Regions from separate parts of the Homo sapiens genome. Here all the other regions are linked to region 4. The links are contacts of gene promoters, found by promoter capture Hi-C in blood cells and fetal thymus (Javierre and others, 2016). All regions are on one chromosome and are shown on one strand. Each heading gives the region's core, a stretch centred on a gene start or on the middle of the fragment in contact. The rest is flanking DNA. Distances are from core to core; before and after follow the strand shown. Region 1 has its middle 6.6 kb from the start of SLC61A1. Region 2 holds the start of LOC122455340. Region 3 overlaps ZNF740 (zinc finger protein 740). Region 4 holds the start of AMHR2 (anti-Mullerian hormone receptor type 2). Region 5 overlaps CSAD (cysteine sulfinic acid decarboxylase).

What was found. The method cuts DNA at HindIII sites, captures the fragments that hold promoters and counts their contacts. A CHiCAGO score of 5 or more calls a contact.
Region 1: a fragment that was not itself captured here is called in contact with the fragment with the promoter of AMHR2 in region 4 in 2 of 17 cell types (total B cells and erythroblasts); the score reaches 5.8 in total B cells.
Region 2: a contact is called between a fragment that was not itself captured here and the fragment with the promoter of AMHR2 in region 4, in 4 of 17 cell types (total B cells, endothelial precursors, activated CD4 T cells and 1 more). The highest score is 5.9, in total B cells.
Region 3: a contact is called between a fragment that was not itself captured here and the fragment with the promoter of AMHR2 in region 4, in 7 of 17 cell types (activated CD4 T cells, neutrophils, total CD8 T cells and 4 more). The highest score is 9.7, in activated CD4 T cells.
Region 5: a contact is called between a fragment that was not itself captured here and the fragment with the promoter of AMHR2 in region 4, in 6 of 17 cell types (neutrophils, activated CD4 T cells, total CD4 T cells and 3 more). The highest score is 7.0, in neutrophils.

What each region holds. Positions count from the first base shown.
Region 1 is chr12:53,256,753-53,260,544 of GRCh38, forward strand. No RefSeq gene overlaps it. Among named protein-coding and RNA genes, the nearest start is that of SLC61A1, 6.6 kb to the left of the region's middle. The HindIII fragment of the contact is 8,302 bases long and covers 1-3,792 here.
Region 2 is chr12:53,240,516-53,244,112 of GRCh38, forward strand. It overlaps LOC122455340, which reads left to right and starts at 1,385. Exons shown (of 1, transcript NM_001395962.1): 1 at 1,385-2,207. The coding sequence starts at 1,408. The coding sequence ends at 1,926. RefSeq lists an enhancer at 1,296-2,208. The HindIII fragment of the contact is 2,909 bases long and covers 261-3,169 here.
Region 3 is chr12:53,190,890-53,194,873 of GRCh38, forward strand. ZNF740 (zinc finger protein 740) reads left to right here. Exons shown (of 7, transcript NM_001004304.4): 7 at 1-3,984. ITGB7 (integrin subunit beta 7) reads right to left here. Exons shown (of 16, transcript NM_000889.3): 10 at 3,309-3,455; 11 at 2,819-3,012; 12 at 2,251-2,474; 13 at 1,802-2,021; 14 at 1,441-1,649; 15 at 970-1,130; 16 at 434-747. The coding sequence ends at 667. Among named protein-coding and RNA genes, the nearest start is that of CSAD, 12 kb to the left of the region's middle. The HindIII fragment of the contact is 2,681 bases long and covers 1-2,677 here.
Region 4 is chr12:53,421,074-53,425,104 of GRCh38, forward strand. It overlaps AMHR2 (anti-Mullerian hormone receptor type 2), which reads left to right and starts at 2,782. Exons shown (of 11, transcript NM_020547.3): 1 at 2,782-2,910; 2 at 3,215-3,397; 3 at 3,636-3,827. The coding sequence starts at 2,862. RefSeq lists an enhancer at 100-666 and a cis regulatory region at 351-869. The HindIII fragment of the contact is 5,088 bases long and covers 586-4,031 here.
Region 5 is chr12:53,172,127-53,176,068 of GRCh38, forward strand. CSAD (cysteine sulfinic acid decarboxylase) reads right to left here. Exons shown (of 17, transcript NM_001244705.2): 3 at 1,602-1,644; 4 at 1,219-1,350; 5 at 396-522; 6 at 220-310. The coding sequence starts at 1,344. Among named protein-coding and RNA genes, the nearest start is that of ZNF740, 6.6 kb to the right of the region's middle. RefSeq lists an enhancer at 2,753-3,688. The HindIII fragment of the contact is 411 bases long and covers 1,184-1,594 here.

The sequences.
Region 1 (3,792 bases), core at 1,284-3,783, 160 kb before region 4:
TGACAGTAATTATTAGTGGCCCTCACATTCCTAAGTGATATGGAAATAGAGGGGTAGGGGAGACTAATGAGATTCCTTTAGCTTTGTCCCTGATGAGCTTGCTTCAAAGGGGCTGGTGGCAAATAGAGTGGAGAGTGTTCTTTCCTGTCAGACTCACAGCGTGTTAAGAGCTGGAAGGCATCTTAGAGATTATCCATTTGGCCTTAAACATTTTTTATTGAGCACCTGCTATGCCGTGTGTTTTACCGCTAGGTACTGGTGATATTTTTATTTATTATTTTATTTTATTTTATTTTTTAAGATGGAGTTTCGCTCTTGTCACCCAGGCTGGAGTGCAGTGGCACAATCTCGGCTCACCACAACCTCTACCTCCCAGGTTCAAGCAATTCTGCCTCAGCCTCCCAAGTAGCTGGGACTACAGGCGTGCACCACCACGCCTAGCTAATTTTTGTATTTTTAGTAGAGACAGGGTTTCACCATCTTGGCCATGCTGGTCTCAAACTCCTGACCTCATGATCCACCCGCCTTGGCCTCCCAAAGTGCTGGGATTACAGGCATGAGCAACCGTGCCCGGCCTATTTATTTATTTTTTTGAGATGGAGTCTCGCTGTATTGCCAGGCTGGAGTGCAGTGGCACCATCTCGGCTCCGAGGTTCAAGTGATTCTCCTGCCTCAGCCTCCCGCGTAGCTGGGACTACAGACACACCCCACCGCACCCAGTTAATTTTTAGTAGAGACGAGATTTCACCATGTTGGCCAGAATGGTCTTGATTTCTTGACCTCGTGATCCACCCGCCTCAGGCTCCCAAAGTGCTGGGATTACAGGCGTGAGCCACCACACCTGGCCTTATTTATTTATTTATTTATTTATTTATTTATTTTACCCAAGAGGAAAATCCACTTAAAGAAAGCAAATAACTTGCCTAAGGGCATGTAGCAAGTGAGTGATAAAACTAAGACTAAACCTTGCCTCTTTTTGCCAACCCAGTGCCCCCTCTATGACACATGCTGCCTCTGTCCCATGGGACTTCACTTACCTGTTTTTTTAGCCTCCAGCCCTGCTTCCCCACCCAAAGCTCTGTCCCTGGAGAACAGCAAGAGAGTAGGAGTATTTGGCTGTCTGATCCACTTAGGGGTATCTATCCAGATTATTCAAATGAGGGACTGGTTCACCAGGTGCATACTCCCTGCGAAATGCTGCTCATGATGCTCCACCAAGAGGCCCCATAGGGAAGTGATTAAAAATGTGGATCTGAGGGCCGGGTGCGGTGGCTCACACCTGTAATCCCAGCACTTTGGGAGGCCAAGGCGGGCGGATCATGAGGTCAGGAGATCAAGACTATCCTGGCTAACACGGTGAAACCCTGTCTTTACTAAAAATACAAAAAATTAGCCAGTTGTGGTGGTGGGCGCCTGTAGTCCCAGCTACTTGGGAGGCTGAGGGAGAAGAATGGCATGAACCCGGGAGGTGGAGCTTGCAGTGAGCCAAGGTCGCACCACTGCACTCCAGCCTGGGCGACAGAGGGAGACTCCACCTGGAAAAAAAAAATGTGGATCTGGCCGGGCACAGTGGCTCACTCCTGTAATCCCAGCACTCTGGGAGGCCAAGGCAGGTGGATCACCAGAGGTCAGGAGTCGAGACCAGCCTGGCCAACATGGTGAAACCCGTCTCTATGATAATACAAAAATTAGCCAGGCATGGTGGTGGGCGCCTGTAATCCCAGCTACTCGGGAGGCTGAAGCAGGAGAATCGCTTGAACCCTGGAGGCGGAGGTTGCAGTGAGCCGAGATCATGCCATCATGCCATTCATTGCACTCCAGCCTGGGCAACAAGAGTGAAACTCCATCTCAAAAAAAAAAAAAAAAAAAGCCCAACTGCCTGGTTTGAATCTGGCTCCACAACTCTGTGCCTCAGTTTCCTCATCTGTGAAATGGGGAGGATAGTATAGTTTCAACCCCTAAGGGTTCTTGTGAGGATTAAATGCGTCATTGTACTTAAGTGCTTAGAACAGTATTTGGCCCACAGTATAAGCACTACATAAGTGTTTGCTTTTATATTTTATTTTTTAACTTCTCCAATCCAGCTGAGCCTATCTAGATTTGAGTGTGGGAATGAGTGGACAGGACTGTAATGGGGTGTAGAACTTCCCAATGCATCTTAGTGATTGGGGGATTCCCAGCAGCGTTTATCCTCAGTACTGGCCCAGATGGAATTATCGAGCTATTTGAGAAGGCTTCTACTCTGGGATATGTGAGCATCTGAGCTGGGTGTCAATGTGTTCCACTTGAACTCATTTCCTCTTCCTCTAGTGGGAAAGTCAGCTTGGGGTTAGACTGGATACAACCACCATCTTTCACTAAGAGGCTCCTGATTTTCTGAATTTCCATCCAGCTGGAAACATGATTATTTGATCTGGAGCTTTTAAGCGATCCTGAGGAGAAAAGAGAAACATCCTGGGGACCCAGGAGCCAATGAACGAGGAGGCAGGAGGACTGGGGCAGGAAGACAGTACAGGGTTCTGAGGCCTGGAGGATGACCTCTTCCTGGAAATTCAGTCCCTGCCCTGGGAGGGGAGGGGGCTGTTCCCGGCTAATGGTCAGCTGAGTCTAGGTCCTCTCCTTATCGCTCTTCCCCTAACCCCAATCCTGTGGTTTTCCTGCCCTTTTTATTATTTGCTGCCACTACCTCCCCATAGAACCACAGATTGGAAATGTAACACAAACAAATGTCATGCTTGAGATCAGATCTGATGTTATAAAAATACCTCACATTTACTTTAACTGTTTTTTTCATAAAGTTATATGGTCTCATTGTAAAATGGTCAAATGCAAATACAGAAATGCATATTTTATATACATATGTGAATATCAGTATGTGCTAATTACGTTATAGTAGTATATTAAAATACATATATTTGTATTGCTATATAAATATATAGTTGACGCTTGAACAACAGCAAGCCACTGACCCATGGCGCAGTTCAAAATCTGAGTATGGCTTTTTCTTTTTTTTTTTGGGGGGGACAGGGCCTCCCTCTTTCACCCAGGCTGGAGGGCAGTGGCACAATTTTGGCTCACTGCAGCCTCAGCCTCCTGGATTCAAGCAATTCTCCTACCTCTGCCTCCCCAGTAACTGGGACTACAAGGTGTGCGCCATCATGCCTGACTAATTTTTGCATTTTTAGTAGAGATGGGGTTTCACCATGTTGGCCAGGCTGGTCTCAAACTCCTGATCTCAAGTGAGCCGCCCACCTTGGCCTCCCAAAGTGCTGGGGTTACGGGAGTGAGCCACCATGCCCGGCTTTTTCTTGAGACTGAATCTTGCTATGTCACCCAGGCTGGCCTCCAACTGCTGAGCTCAAGTGATCCTCCCACCTCCACCTCAGCCTCCAGACTGGCTGGGACTACTCAAACACCACCGTGCTTGGCATTTTTTTTTTTTTTTTGCCTTCTGTTGCTGCCTCTGAAAATAATTCATTTTTTTTCTTTTTCGTTTTAAGACAAGGTCTTATGTCACCCAGGCTAGAGTGCAGTGGCACGATAACAGTTCACTGCAGCCTCGACCTCCTGGGCTCAAGCAGTCCTCCCACCTCTGAGTAGTTGGGACTACAGGTGCACACCACCACACCTAGCTAATTTTTTTTTTTTTTTTTTTTTGTAGAGAAGATGGTCTCACTATGTGACCCAGGCTAGTCTCGAACCCTTGAGCTCAAGCAGTCCTCCCACCTCAGCCTCCCAAAATGTTGGAATTACAGGTGTGAGCCACTGTGCCTGGCCTGAAGATAATTCTTT
Region 2 (3,597 bases), core at 465-2,964, 180 kb before region 4:
CACAAGGTCAGGAGATTGAGACCATCCTGGCTAACACAGTGAAACCCTGTCTCTACTAAAAATACAAAAAATTAGCCGGGTATGGTGGCAGGTGCCTGTAGTCCCAGCTACTCGGGAGGCTGAGGCAGGAGAATGGCGTGAACCCGGGAGGTGGAGGTTGCAGTGAGCTAAGACTGTGCCAGTGCACTCCAGCCTGGGCGACAGAGCGAGACTCTGTCTCAAAAAAAAAAAAAAAATAGCCTTTCTCATGCTCTGAAATAAGCTTAGTTATATGTTTACCTGTTTGCTTTTTGTCTCCACCCCACCTCACCCCACCCCTCACTTCCTCATTTTTATGGGAACTCCATAAGAGAGGAAACTTAACTATCTTGTCCACTACCAAGGCCAGTGCCTGATGCATACTAGGTCTCAAATAATAGTTGACCAGGCTGGTTGTCAATCTCCCAGAGACAGTTGAGCACCCCCCACACTCACACCTGGGACTTGCTCTCTCTGGAAATTCCTAGAACCCAGGCATCCCACCTCCTCTGCCAGCTCCCAACTACATCCCAGACTCCGTCTTTCAGAGCCCTCCTGTGGCCACTGCTATTGCCTGCTGCTGCTTCCCTGAGTCCCCTGTGGGAGCTGTTTGGGGTCCCTGAAGCAGCAGCTCTGGAGGTTAGTGTTGGAGAGACTCAGGCATCAGGGGCCTAGAGCTCAAGAAATATTTTGTTTGTTTGTTTGTTTTTTGGGGTTTTATGAGACCAAGTTTTGCTCTTGTTGCCTAGGCTGGAGTACAATGGCATGATCTCAGCTCACTGCAACCTCCACCTCTCGGGTTCAAGCGATTCTCCTGCCTCAGCGTCCCGAGTAGCTGGGATTACAGGCATGTGCCACCACGCCCGGCCAGTTTTGTATTTTTAGTAGAGACAGGGTTTCTCCATGTTGGTCAGGCTGGTCTCGATCTCCTGACCTCGGGTGATCCGCCCACCTCAGCCTCCCGAAGTGCTGGGATTACAGACATGAGCCACCGTGCCTGGCCAAGAAATGCTTTTTGATTGAGTAAAGGAGAAGACTTCAGCAATGACAGGGCCTCGCCAGGTGAAGAAGGGAGCAGGGGCACTCAGAGCAGAAGGACCAGTGTGAACAAAGGACTGGAGGCCTGGGAGTACATGTCATATTTGAAGAAAGTGTTCTGATCTGGTGCTGTTGGAGGATTTTCAGGGGAGAGGGGTAGTAGGAGAGCTTTGCCGGCCTGGAAGGGGAGGGCTGGAAAAGGAGGGCTGGATGTGGAGGGCTGAGCTCCCTGCAGGATCAGCAAGGCTCAGCATGTCTTAGGTTTAATCCTGCCCCCCACCGTCCGCCCCTCCTACTCCATCCCTGTCCTCCCCTTCACCCAGCCCCCAGCCTGGCCACAACTGCAGCTGAATGGACTTCTCTCTGGGCCTACGCTTGGGGCCTAGGAATAAGAAGCCTGCCCACCAAGAGCCTCCTGCCTGCTCCAGGCATGGTCCACCTGCTGGCTCTCCTTGTCTGTCCTGTCCCCCATCTGCCTGTGCCTTCCCCTGCCATGGCTGTCCCCCACCCCCATGCTCCTGCACTGCCTGTCCCTCTAGTGCAGCTCCCTGCCCCGCTTGTCCCAGCCTCCCGGGCCCACCCTGCACCTGCTCTTGCCCCCGCTGCCCTGCCTGTCCTCCCTTGACTTGTCCCCATAACTCCTGTGTCTCATGCTCCGGTCCACCCTTGACCTGCTGCCACCCCTCACCCTGCCCAGTTTACCCTTGCTCCATGAGCCGAGCTGCCTGTTTGAGCTCCCGTTTAGGCTGCAGTGATAGCTGTAGCTGTGGCCAAGGGGCTGCCTGGGGACCTCCAGGCTCCCTTGGCTGCTGTAGCTGCTGCTTCAGGGGACAACAACGCACTTCTCGGGGGCGCTGTCTGATCATTTAGGTGGACTGTTGCCCACCAGGAGACTGTCAGTTTCCTGGAGCACTTCCGTACTGCTGCCCTGGCAAGGAGGCAGGAGCTGGGTGGAGTGGGAGAGGGATCAGCTGGACCCCTCCCTCAAGCAGGTAGAGGCAGCTGGCTTTCCCCAGTCCTGGAGAGGTGGCAGGGGGAATCTGCTTTGAAGTTAGTTTCTGGATGTGCTCCTGCTGGTTCCAGAACCTCTTCCTCTGCAACCTCTGGAATGGAAGGTGTTCTTCTCAGAGCCTCCCCCACGGCCCCTGAAGGTGAGCAAGTTGTCATTTCTTCCTCTCCACTGAGCCTCCATTGGAGTCTCCTCTGCAGTTCACATGAATAAATGGACTCTTCCTCTAGAGGAGCTGGAGTATCCTGGTCCAGAGGCCACTTCTTCTCCCTCTGACCTACACCCAAGATTGACCCAAGAGTCTCTGAATCCCTGACCTCTCACCTTGAGTCAGGCAGAGAGGGTCAGTGGCTTTTGGACCAGAAGAAGAGGCTGAGTGGAAGATATTTGGTTCCTCCCTCCACTTGGAAATCCTTGGCATCCTTTGTGGTCCTTTGTTTCTAGCCAGGAACCCTCTGCCTGGATGTCTTGTCTTTCAAATCTCTGAGAGCTCACTCAGCCTCATGACCTCAATCTTGCAGCAGTGATCCCATCTGTGACATCCAGGCTCATCTGGCATAGGGATGAGGGAGGCTGGGAACCCTTGACTCAGGCTCCTAAGGATGGCATCCACACATAGGTAGCTGTAAGTCTCCTGTCCCCAGGGATGGGACTGGGAGATGAGACAAGCCACCAAGAGATAGCTGAGAGCCAGGCTCGGTGGCTCATGCCTGTAATCCCAGCACTTTGGGAGGCTGAGGCAAGTGGATCGCCTGAGGTCAGGAGTTCGATACCAGCCTGGCCAATATAGTGAAACCCCGTCTCTACTAAAAATACAAAAAATTAGCTGGGCATGGTGGCGCGCACCTGTAATTCCAGCTACTAGGGAGGCTAAGGCAGGAAAATCGCTTGAACCCGGGAGGTGGAGGTTGCAGTGAGCCAAGACCGCGCCGTTGCACTCCAGCTTGGGCAACAAGAGCTAAACTCTGTCTTAAAAAAAAAAAAAAAGAGATAGCTGGAAGTGGGAGACTCTGGTATCTGCCTGGGATGAGCTCCTAGGCTGAGAGCCCCTGAGCACCACTCCACGTCTCTCCAGTTTTCTGGCTCCTGTACTAATCTGTTCCAAGCTTCTTTTTCTTAGCTGCCTTCTCTAGGACTCCTTTCGTTCTTGTCTTTATAGCTGTTTGTGTTTCCTTCTGTCTTTCTACCTCACTCTCTTCATTTCTGTTTCCTCCTCACTCTCTGTCACTGGGACATTTTGCCTTCACCTAATTGTATCACCACATCTGTTTTCCCCACTCTCTATCCCTCTATTACTCTATCTAATTTGAAATCAATTTAACATATGTCTTCAGCACCATAGGAAAGGTTAAAAAAATTAGCATATGTGTTTTTCTTCCCCCTTCTCTTGTCTCAATCCTTGTCTTCATGCCTATTTTCTTCCTTGGTCTTTCCTTTTCCCTCATATCTCTCTGCTTTTCTGTCCTGTTCTGCTTCTGGGTGCATTTCATTCTTTTTGGGTTTTGTTGTTAGTTTTTTGTTGTTGTTTGGTT
Region 3 (3,984 bases), core at 87-2,586, 230 kb before region 4:
TTTTCATACTGGTTTTAGTTGTTTTCCTTTTTTCTCCCTACATAATCACCCCACAACTTCCAGCACCCTATAAGCCATTTTAAAACCCCTTCTCCACAGAGGAACAAGCAAGTAGGAGCAAAAACAGGGCATCAGTTCTGAGCAAGACGAAAAAGCACACGCAGCAGGACGGAAGGAGGCTAGACACCAACAGATGCAGTGTCTCTGACCTGGGACCCCCCTGCATCCGCAGCACTTGAGAATTCATAGGCCCTTTCCAGACCTGGCTTCCTGGGTCCCAGGGTGCACCCCGGGAGTTTCCTGCACATTCGCGCTTGGGCACCTCTCCCTGCCCTCAGGTGGCAAGAGGAGGATGGACAAGAGCTTTCCCGAGGCCCAGGCTATAAACAGTCTGCTTTGGCCTTGATGAGGTAAAGCAAAGTGACAGCTGTGGTCTGAGGTAAGACTTTATTGTATACTTGGGTGGGGTAGCCCAGATGGATGCAAGGTTGCAGGCATGGGAAGCAGCCCTCTTGGGTGTCACTCTGAAAATGAAGTAGGGTGGTGGCCGCACCTCGCCAGTGAATTAGTCCCCTACCAAGGTCTTACAGACCCACCCTTCCTCTCACCCTCCAGTTCCCACTGTCCTCCAAGGAGAAGAGCCTTGGGTAAGTGTCCCTCCCTCCTTCAGAGAGTGGGACTGTCTGCCTCTTGAAAGCGAGGATTGATGGTGGTCGTGATGGCACTTTTGTAGAGAGGATTACTGTCCTGGAGAAAGATGTTGCAGATTATAAGCAAAAATCCCAGGATTCCTCGTCCCCTTTCTAGACCTAAGAGGCCAGCCTTGAGCCGAATCCTAGGAGCTGATGGAAGTTAGCAGAGGGGTTGGTTACATGTGCCAGGGGCTGGGGGAACCCAGTGGGAGGAATCAGGGCTGGTCTTGTGGTGGGGGAACAGCTAAAAAGGGGCCTAACCAGGAAGTCTCCTCACCTGCTTCCAGTTGAGTTGTTGCTGCTCCTTCTCAAAGCGACTGTATTCCCGGCGGTCATAGATTTCCACCGAGAGCCGGTAAGCCAGGACCAGCCCCAGCCCCACTGCCACGATGCCCCCTACGCAGCCCAGCACAATGGCCTGCGTGTGGTCTGCTCCCTCTGTGAACAAGAAACCAGACACACTTGTGGGAGCTGGAGCATAGGGACAGATCATCAGTTGCTCACAGTGTGTCCAGCCTGTCCAACCCTGTCTGTCACTGAAAGCAAAGGGAACCCAGGGAGGTCCAAGGTTATCCTCACCGCCCAGGGCCTTAGCCTCGTCCACTTGCTCAATTGCCTCTGCCTTTGTCCTGGATTCACAGTTCTGCTTCAGCCCCCAGCCTGTTTCCCATTATCTTCACTCTGCATCCCCAGAGTTGAGACCCTGCCCATCAAACTTCCAGGGTTTGTGGCATCCCTGCCCACTTACTTTCTTGGGGTCTCACTCTGAGCACGACCGTGCCTCTGGCGTCATCCTCCACCAAGAAGAAGAACAGCTGGTTGTCCAGGGTCCGCTCTTTGCACCAGCCATCATCCAAGATAGGGGCCAAGGCCAGGGTCACATTGGTATGGGCACAAGCTGTACTGCAGTTGGTGGCCAGTGGGCCAGTCCTGAAGGCCCCACACTCTGCACAGTCCCTGTGTAGTAGATGCCAATAGGTTACCAGCTGGGCAGTTGTCACCCAATGCCCCTTGCCCAACTACAAGCAGGACGGAGAGTAGGCAGATGGGAGTAGCTCAACAAGCCCCACTGTGCCCCTGCTCCCAAGATGCAAGACCTGAGGCCTCACCGGTGTCTCTCGCATGGTGTCTTGCAGCCTGGGCATTGGTCGCATAGAGCACCATAGTAGCCGTCCAAGCACTGGCAGCGGTTGCATTTGCAGCGTCCATGCCCACTGCAGAGCCCTCCCTCGGGACTGATGCAACTGTCCATGTCCCCACTGCATTCGCATGCTCTGCCCGTGCGGTTGGCATGACAGTGACATACTCCACATTGGCAGCGACCAAAGCCTGGGGTAGAGCCATGCAGAGGGTGACAACCATACTCCACACACACAGTTGGCCATCATGTGGCACGACAAGCCCACGCATCCAATCTTTTTGAAGTATGCCAACCACACCCTCTAACCCATACACCGGAATCTTTTGATATTTGCCTTCCATGCCAGGAGATTCCCAGAGCCTAAGTGCCTTGGGAAGGCCTCTCAGACCCCGCCCTTCTCCCCAAGGCTCCAGGTACCTCCGCAGAGGATGCCCTCATGTCGCTCACAGCTGGCATCGTCACACTCGCACAGATGCCCAGAGCTCTGTCCACTGCAGCTGCAGCGTCCACATTGACAGTGACCCTTTCCACTGCACAGGGGCCCTGTGCCATTGGGAGCCCGGCACCCAGATTCCAGGTCTGGGGAGGACAGCTCTGCCACAGAGCACTCACAGAGCCGACCTAGGCGGCCAGGGGCACAGCTGGAAGGGGAAGGCAAAGGAGAGAAGTAGGTCAGAGGGTTTGATCACCCCTGACTTGTCTCTCCCAGGAACCTCTAAACCCAAGTTCTCAAAAGAGTTGGAGACAGACAAACAGCTGAAAGGATGTTAAGTATAGTGAAACACTGAGGGGTGAGAGAGTGGAGGGAGCCCCAGTCAGGGGGAGGGCCTGGACATACATGGGAAGCTTCAAGGGATGAAACTGAGTGGGGAGTCGGGATGTCGAGGAGACTCCTGTGGGGGGGATGGAAAGCAGCGGAGGAATACGGGCCAGGGTTGGTTGGTTGTTGGGAGCCAGGTGGTTGAAGGGAAGAGGAGGCCCTCACCTGCATACACCACATTGTAGGTGTCCCTGGCCATCACTGCAGTGGGGAGCCTGGGGCTGGGTGTCACTGCAATTACAGTCACACAGCGTGTGCAACTCCACAATCAGCTCCTCTGAGAAGCCAAGGGCCCGGAGCCTCAGGAGATGGGGCTCTGGGAGGCAGTGGGTGGCTTGGAGAGAAACCCAGAAAGTCACCTGAGAAGAGGCAGGAATCAGGCCATGGTTATACACATGCACACACACATACCCCAAACTCACCAATCATCCAGAACCTCACCCCTTAGTAAATGAAGGGATGGGGTCATGTTAACACCCAACTCCTAGAAACATGCCTGAGGAAGCCACTCAGACTGCTCCAGGAAGGATGGATGGAGGACTACCTCAGGCTCTCATGTCACTCCCTGTACCTGCCACCCATCTTTTCCTGCCTGCTTAATTTCCCACTCCCACCTCCCCCTGCCCGCCTTCTGCCTGTGCTTGCTGGCTCTCACCGTCTGGTTGATTCGGACGTGGTTGCACTGTCCTCGATCCTCAGCCTTACCCTCCCTCTTCTCAGGACCCTCACACTGGGATTCGTAAGAAATGTGGACCCCAGGAGGGAGTGAAGAGTGTTCAAGGGTCACGGTGGAAGACAGGCTCTATGGGAAGAGAGCGAGTGGATAACCACGTGAAGGCAGAAAAGGACTCCAACCCCACCTTATGTCCTCTCCAGGTGTTCCCAATTCTGCCAGCACCCTGCCCTCTGCCACCTGGGGCTCCTTCCATTCTGCCCAGTCGAGGCATTTCTGGAGGGAGGACCCGTGAGAACCTTGCATAGAACATACAGGATCCAGAGGCCTCTAATACAGCATTTCAGTGCAGCTGCCAGCAAGGGCCACTGAGGGTCACAGGCTGGCCAGGTGCTGTAAATGTACAGAGACCATGTTTGTGAAGCCCCACATCAGGACACATAACCTGGGTGCATGCCAGGTCTAAAGGGCAGATTCATTACAGAGTTTATCTTGGGAAATTTGATACTGTCTCAGATTTTCTTGCCATAGGTTTAGGAGATGCTCCCTGTTATCAAGAAGCCTACAGCCTAGTTGCAGAGGTAAGACCTAAACCACTAAGAATTTTTATGGTTCCTTCTACCTGTAAAATTCTATGGTTCTTGTGAAGAATAGCTCT
Region 4 (4,031 bases), core at 1,532-4,031:
CCGGCACTTTGGGAGGCCGAGGGGGGCGGATTACCTGAGGTCAGGAGTTTGAGACCAGCCTGGCCAACATGGCGAAACCCCGTCTCTACTAAAAATACAAAAATTAGCCGGGCGTGGTGGTATGCGCCTGTAGTCCCAGCTACTCAGGAAGCTGAGGCCGGAGAATCGCTTGAACCCGGTAGGCAGAGGTTGCAGTGAGCCGAGATCGCACCACTGCACTCCAGCCTGGGTGACAGAGCGAGACTCCGTCTCAAAAAAAAAAAAAAAAAAAAATGTCGGTACTCAGACTGTCCTCCCTGGTCTAAGCCAGATCATTCCAAGAAAGGGTTTCCAGGAAGCCACTAGGGGGACAGAAAGCTAGGGAAACAGAGAACAAGTCCCCTCTGACTCTTAATTCTCAAGGAGCCAGTGGCTCACAGGTGTGGAAGTGATTACCTATTTCTGTTGTTTCTTACTCTGGGAAAGAGTCTGGTGGAGTTGGACTCCTCTGTCTCTACTGCAGAACAAGCCATAGCCCTCTCCTCCCAACTCCATGCTGAAACTCTCCACATCCTGTGCCCGCCCTTCACATTTTATAGTCCCTGAAGCTTAGTAAATGTAGGAGGTATACTATATGTATTAGTCATCAGAGGAGGTACTTTCTGCCCTCTCACCGCAGCAGGGAATTTCTCCTCTGCTGACCTCTGGTGGTGATAGTTTGAACTGTACCCTCCCTTTTTAGTTAGTGGCCTGTTGGCAGGTAATGATGCATATTTTCTCAACAATTTAAATTCAAATGTCCAAGTATAGTATTAAGTGGTAATTTTTTTTCATTGTTGAATTTTGTACGTCTTTCAGGCAGTATAGTGTAATACAAAGAATAGAGCCGGCCGGGTGCGGTGGCTCACGCCTGCAATCCCAGCACTTTGGGCGGCCGAGGCGGAGGGATCACGAGGTTAAGAGATCGACCCCTTCGGCCGGGCGCAGTGGCTCACGCCTGTAATCTCAGCACTTTGAGAGGCCGAGGCGGGCGGATCACGAGGTCAGGAGATCAAGACCATCCTGGCTAACACGGTGAAAACCCGTCTCTACTAAAAATACAAAAAATTAGCCGGGCGTGGTGGCGGCCGCCTGTAGTCCCAGCTGCTCGGGAGGCTGAGGCAGGAGAATGGCGTTAACCCGGGAGGCAGAGCTTGCAGTGAGCCGAGATCGCGCTACTGCACTCCAGCCTGGGCGACAGAGCAAGACTCCATCTCAAAAAAAAAAAAAAAAAAAAAAAGATCGACCCCATCCTGGCCAACATGGTGAAACTCCGTCTCTACTAAAAGTACAAAAATAATAATAAAAATAAGACTAGAACCTGGACTTTGGAGTCAGACCTGCCTAAGTTCAAATTCCAGCTCTGCTATTTCCTAGCTGAATGACTTTGGGCGACTTACGTAAGTTCAGTTTTCTTACCTATAAAATGGAAATAATAAAAATAATAGGCCAGGCACAGTGGCTCACACTTGTAATCCCAGCACTTTGGGAGGCCAAGGCGGGCAGATCACGAGGTCACGAGATCGAGACTATCCTGGCCAACATGGTGAAACCCTGTCTCTACTAAAAATACAAAAATTAGCTGGACATGGTGGTGCGTGCCTGTAATCCCAGCTACTCGGGAGGCTGAGGCAGGAGAATCGCTTGAACCAGGGAGTCAGAGGTTGCAGTGAGCCAAGATGGCACCACTGCACTCTAGCCTGGTGACAGAGCGACACTCGGTCTCAAAAAATAAATAAATAAAATAATAATAATAAATATTTCAGGGGAGAATTAGATGAGATGATTGTAAAATGCATAGCCCTAGCTGTGCCCCAGCACATAGTAGGTGCTTGATAAGAAATTTGTTACCTCCTTAATAATGGGTATTTGTTCAGCCTGTGAACCAATGTGTTTTTTTTTTTTAAGTAAAATCCACGGCTAGGCATGGTGGCTCACGCCTATAATCCCAGCACTTTGGGAGGCCGAGGCGGGCAAATCACCTGAGGTAAGGAGTTCGAGACTAGCCTGGCTGACATGGTGAAACCCCGTCTCTACTAAAAATACAAAAATTAGCCAGGTGTGGTGGCAGGCGCCTGTAATCCCAGCTACTCAGGAGGCTGAGGCAGGAGAATAGCTTGAACCCAGGAGGCGGAGGTTGCAGTGAGCTGCGATCGTGCCACTGCACTCCAGCCTGGGGGAGAAGAGCGAGACTCCGTCTCAAAAAAAAAAAAAAAAAAATCCACATAGCAAAATTTACCATTGTTACTGTTTTCAATGTGTTTTTTAAAAATTCAGGTAAGTTTTGTATACTTTCTGATTCTTAAGTTGGAAAACAAGGTAACCTCTAATATGGGCTGTGAGGCCTTCCTCTGCCCAAGCAGTTGCAGATATGAACCCTGAATATAAAGAGATCTTAGGCTAGAAAGGATCTTGGGCAGAGCTGAATGGCTCTAAGCATTTGACCTCACATTGGTTTCCTCCTGAGAAGAGTCAACAGAGTCCAGCATCTTCTTCCAAGGTCAGGGAAGGGCAAAGATTTGAAATTAGGCATCACTGGGTTCTCAGCTGGGCCTCCAAGTTCCCCTCCTCTCACTATGCAGAGCAAAGAGGAGGTTGCAGAAGAGAAGAGGATATGAGATTGGTTCTCTGCTCCTCCCTTTCTTTCCCTGCTTTCCCCACACCCACCCTCTCCCCCACAGCAGCCTTCTCCCCCACAGAGGCTGGGATAGGATGAGGGGGGCGGAGTTGGGGACTGAGGGATCAGAAGCCCCAGGATGCCCTGTATCTGAAGAAAGATTTGGCCAGGGGCAGCTGTGCTGGCTTATGCTCTTCTCCTTCTGCTGCTGCCATCCTCCAGCAAGATGCTAGGGTCTTTGGGGCTTTGGGCATTACTTCCCACAGCTGTGGAAGGTAAGTGTCTACAGGGAGGGGAAGGGTCTCTCCATCCATCCAGCAAGGGAAAGGGGCGCTTGAAGCAAGAGCCACCCCTTTGGAAGAGTGGTGAGTGGGCTGGGTGAGTAAGGGTGAAGGATAGAGCCATGTGTCCCCATGGCAGGGCTCAGGTTCCAGGCCTCTGCTGACCCTGCTTCCTCCTGTGGCTTTACCATACTGACGCTGGGATGTGGAACATGTTTTGTCTATTCTTTTGGCCAGTTTTTTGCCTCTGCATTCACTCCCACCTTGAATCTTTTCCTTTCCCCACCCTGGGCCTCAGCACCCCCAAACAGGCGAACCTGTGTGTTCTTTGAGGCCCCTGGAGTGCGGGGAAGCACAAAGACACTGGGAGAGCTGCTAGATACAGGCACAGAGCTCCCCAGAGCTATCCGCTGCCTCTACAGCCGCTGCTGCTTTGGGATCTGGAACCTGACCCAAGACCGGGCACAGGTGGAAATGCAAGGTGAATGGCAAAGTATATGGCAGGTGATGGCTAGGGTGGGAGACAGACACATCCTGGGGTGTGGGTGGCAACCAAGGGGGAAGGGGAGAAATAGAACATCTGGTGGGAAAGAAAAGCCCATGAGAGCTGGAAGGGACGCCTCTGATAGAGAAGGGATTTACCCTCTGTTTCCACACCCCATTGTGCTTTCTTCCTTGCCCCCCCTTTCTCTCCTCTTCCCCTAATCCCATCCCATCAGGATGCCGAGACAGTGATGAGCCAGGCTGTGAGTCCCTCCACTGTGACCCAAGTCCCCGAGCCCACCCCAGCCCTGGCTCCACTCTCTTCACCTGCTCCTGTGGCACTGACTTCTGCAATGCCAATTACAGCCATCTGCCTCCTCCAGGGAGCCCTGGGACTCCTGGCTCCCAGGGTCCCCAGGCTGCCCCAGGTAGCCACCCAAGGGTACTGAAGCCTGATGGGGGCTGGGGCCCAGGTTAGGATGAGAGGTGGAACCAGGGCCAGTTCTCACCCTACTCCCGCCCCACGCTTTCCTCCTCCTGGCCTTGGGAAGTTGGTTGCCCTGGTGACTGGGAGATAAGGGGTCTTGTGACCAGGGTGGGGGTGGGTTGAGACGCAAGCTCTCAGGAGGGGA
Region 5 (3,942 bases), core at 139-2,638, 250 kb before region 4:
ACAGAACCAGGGAAGCAAGAAAGAGAAAACAGGGGTCAGGAGGCCTGAGAAAGTTTGGAGAAAGTGGGTCCAAAGGATATGAGGAAAAACTCTCTGCCGACAGGGATTCCCAGAAGCAGTAGAGAGAGGGCAGAACCATTCTCCTCCCCTACCCCTCAGGCACCTCTCTAGCAAACCTAAATCCTTTGTGGGATGGTAGAGGGGCCTTGGGATGCTCACTGGCTGGTGTTGAGGCTCTCAGTGATAATGCGCCCGGCCAGAGCATGGGGATCCAACCCAGAGAAGAGCTGGTTGAAGAACCGAGGGTGACCTGGAGAAGGAGAGTAAGCCAGGGAGCTCAGAGTAGAGCTCAGGGCAAACTCCCAAGTCTCCTCCTCACAGAAGCCAGGGCCCACCAGTCTTGACACTGTAGCGAATCACAGCCCGACACCGCTCCAGGATCTGCTTCTGTGACTCGCCCTGGCTCCGCAGCTCCAAATCCAGCAGCTGCTTCAGCTCCTCAGGCTCCTTCCACTCACAGACCTAGGAAGAGAGCCGGGGATGCTGGGGGCCTGGGATGCCTGTGGACTGGCTGTCAAACCACACCTCCACAGACACGAGACACGGCCAACCTGCACTAAAAACAACTTCGGGATATTTCCAAAGCAAAACTCTGAAAATGAACAAGAGTAGTGAACACAGTAAGACCCAGAATGTAAATCCCTGAGGTACCCAGGGGGGCAGGGATGAATTCTGGGGAGAAATCTTATCAAAGGAGGAAAGTTCTGAGCCAGATTTGGAAAGAGAAAGAGAAGGCTTGGGCCAGGCGTGGTAGCTCACGCCTGTAACCTCAGCACTTTGGGAGGCCGAGGCAGGCAGATTACCTGAGGTCAGGAGTTCGAGAGCAGCCTGGCTAACATGGTGAAACCCCGTCTCTACTAAAAATACAAAAATTAGCCGGGCGTGGTGGCACATGCCTGTAATCCCAGCTACTCGGGAGGCTGAGGCAGGAGAGCTGCTTGAGCCCGGGAGACGGAGGTTGCAGTGAGCCAAGATTGTGCCACTGCACTCCAGCCTGGCCGATAGAGCGAGACTCTGTCAAGAAAGAAAGGAAGAAAGGAAAAAAGGAAGGAAGAAAGAAGGAAGGAAGGGGGGGGGAGAAAGAAAAGAAAGGAAAAAAGAAAAGAGAAAAGAAAAGAAAGAAAGCTTGATGGGAAGGAGGAGGAAGAAAGGACTCACCTTCTGGGAGACACTGGTTCCTTTCTGAATGGCCTCATCCACAACAACCCCAAACACGGCCCGGAGCAAGGCTTCCACAGCCACTGGGTCCCCAGCAAGGGAGGGGAGTGCTTCTGAGTCAGCCATCAGGATCTGTGGCAGAGCAGAGTCATTCCCTACTCAGCCTGTCAACCCTTCCCGGACCTACCCAGCAGGAGCCTCCTCTCCCAAACGGGCCTGAGGCCCAAACCCTGCAGCTCAGTCTCGGCCTCCAGTGCACAGACAAGGGCAAGTGAGAGTGCCCAGGGAGAAAACCAGTGGGAACAGGTGGGAGAGAAAAGGCAGTCAGTGCTGAGCAAGTGGACTCTAGTGGCCATTTCCACCTAAGGCAGAGACAAGCTTACCTCTCTGCTCAGGAGAGCCGGAGGCAGGGTGCACAGGTAGCTCCTCAGGACAGCAGGACCAAGATGGCAGAGGAAGTGGGGTGAAAAGTGTACAATTAAGTGTTTTTTTCATAAATTCACAAAGTTGTTGCAACCATCATCACTATCTAACGCCAGAACATTTTCATCACCCAAAAAAAAACCTCAGTAGCAGTCATTTCCCATTCTCCCCTTCCCCGACCCCTGGCAACTACTAATCTACTTTGTTTCTGTAGATTTGTCTAGTCTGGCCATTTCATGTAAAACGGGTCATACAGGCCAGGCGCAGTGGGTCACGCCTGTAATCCCAGCACTTTGGGAGGCCGAGGCGGGCGGATCACGAGGTCAGGAGATCGAGACCATCCTGGCTAACACGGTGAAACCCCGTCTCTACTAAAAATACAAAAAATTAGCCGGGTGTGGTGGCGGGCCCCTGTAGTCCCAGCTAGCTACTCTGGAGGCTGAGGCAGGAGAATGGCGTGAACCCGGGAGGCAGAGCTTGCAGTGAGCAGAGATCGCGCCACTGCACCCCAGCCTAGGCGACAGAGCGAGACTCCATCTCAAAAAAAAAAAAAAGAAAAAAAGAAAATACTGAAAAAGAAGGAAAAAGACTTCAAAATATTCATTTGTGGCTATTTCTGGGTGTTGTTATGGATGATTTTTAAGTTTATTATTTATACACATCTATATTTTTATAACTTTATACAATCATTTCACATTGCTTATGGAATTAAAATAACGGTTCTTTTTAAACAATATAAAAATTGTCCGCGTGTGGTGGCTCACACCTGTAATCCCAGCACTTTGGGATGCTGAGGTGGGTGGATCACCTGAGGTCAGGGGTTTGAGACCAGCCTGGCCAACATGGCGAAACCTCATTTCTACTAAAAAATACACAATTAGCCGGGCGTGGTGGCGGGTGCCTGTAATCCCAGCTACTCAGGAGGCTGAGGCAGGATCCACCTGAACCTGTGAGGCGGAGGTTGCACTGAGCCAAGATGGTACCACTGCACTCCAGCCTGGGCGACAGAGTGGGACTCCATTTCAAAAATATATATATATATGGAGGAATTAAGGGGGTACAAGAATTCTAAAATATACAAATCATCAGGCTCAAGGAATGTCCCTTGCACATCATGTGGTTTCCCAACTCCTCAATCCACTGTTATCAAAGGTCTAATGGAAGGCAAAGGGAGCCACACACTGCTCATCTCTATTACGCAACCCCTCAACCCCCGCTGGCTCTCAGGGAAGGGAATGGGTTCAGTTTGTTCAGCAAACATTGACTGAGTGTTGTCTACTTCTGAGCGCCTGGCTGGCATTACCCTAGGTGCTGCATCTGCCCTGTGGGCTCCAGCTAACAGGCTGGCAAGAGAGACCTGCATGTAAAATAAAGGGAAATTGCCACAAGAGGGAGTTGAGAGGTCACCATGGAAAGGCAGGAAAGTTCAACTGGCCCAGGACAGGCTTCAAGGACAAAACACTAAGGCTCTCCTTAAGGCAATAGAGAGCTGGTGCAGGAAAAGACTCAGCAGGAGTCATTGCAATGCTATTTGAATAAGTGATGGAGTGGGCCTGAGGGAAGAGGGAGTTAGGGAAGGTCACACAGGAGGAGGCCTGCCTGGGGACAAAGGGATCTAGGCAATTGTCTCCTGAAGCGCTCTCAGCCAGGTTTATGGTTAGAAAGCTAAAGTACTCTGTGCTATCTCCCAATCAACAAACCCTAGTGGCTCCACACCCACATTAATAAAGGCACAAACTCTCCTATGTATACAATCTTTTCTCTGCTTCTAGACTGTACTCTCCTGGGTGGAGAGAACTAAGTCTTTTCCTTCATTAAGTAAACTAATAGAAAACAGGGACCCCTCAAATGTTAGTTTCCATCTTCTTGATTGTCCTCTCCCCTCCCCCAGGGACTTGCACAGAGGCATTACATAAACATTTGTTAAATCAATCAATGATTTGCAGGTACTGGAAAAAATGCTGCATTCTACTTACATTTGATTTGCATCAACCAAGAATCTGTAGTAATGATAATAGATTTGCAAAGGGTGTTTTTCCTTCTCATTTATTATCTTATTTGACCTTCACAATAGTATTAGAAATTAGCCTAAATAGGTATTTATTCATTCTTGTTTTCAAGATGAGGATTCTTAGCTGAAAGAAGGTGAACTAATTGTCCAAAATTACAAAGGTGACATGGGAACAAGCCTAGATCACTGACTTTCTGACTTTAGGCTACCTCTTCCACTGCATCACAGGTCCGTGTGGCATTTCTCACTATTTCTCATCATTGACAAAAATTAACTGCAGCTAAGATAAA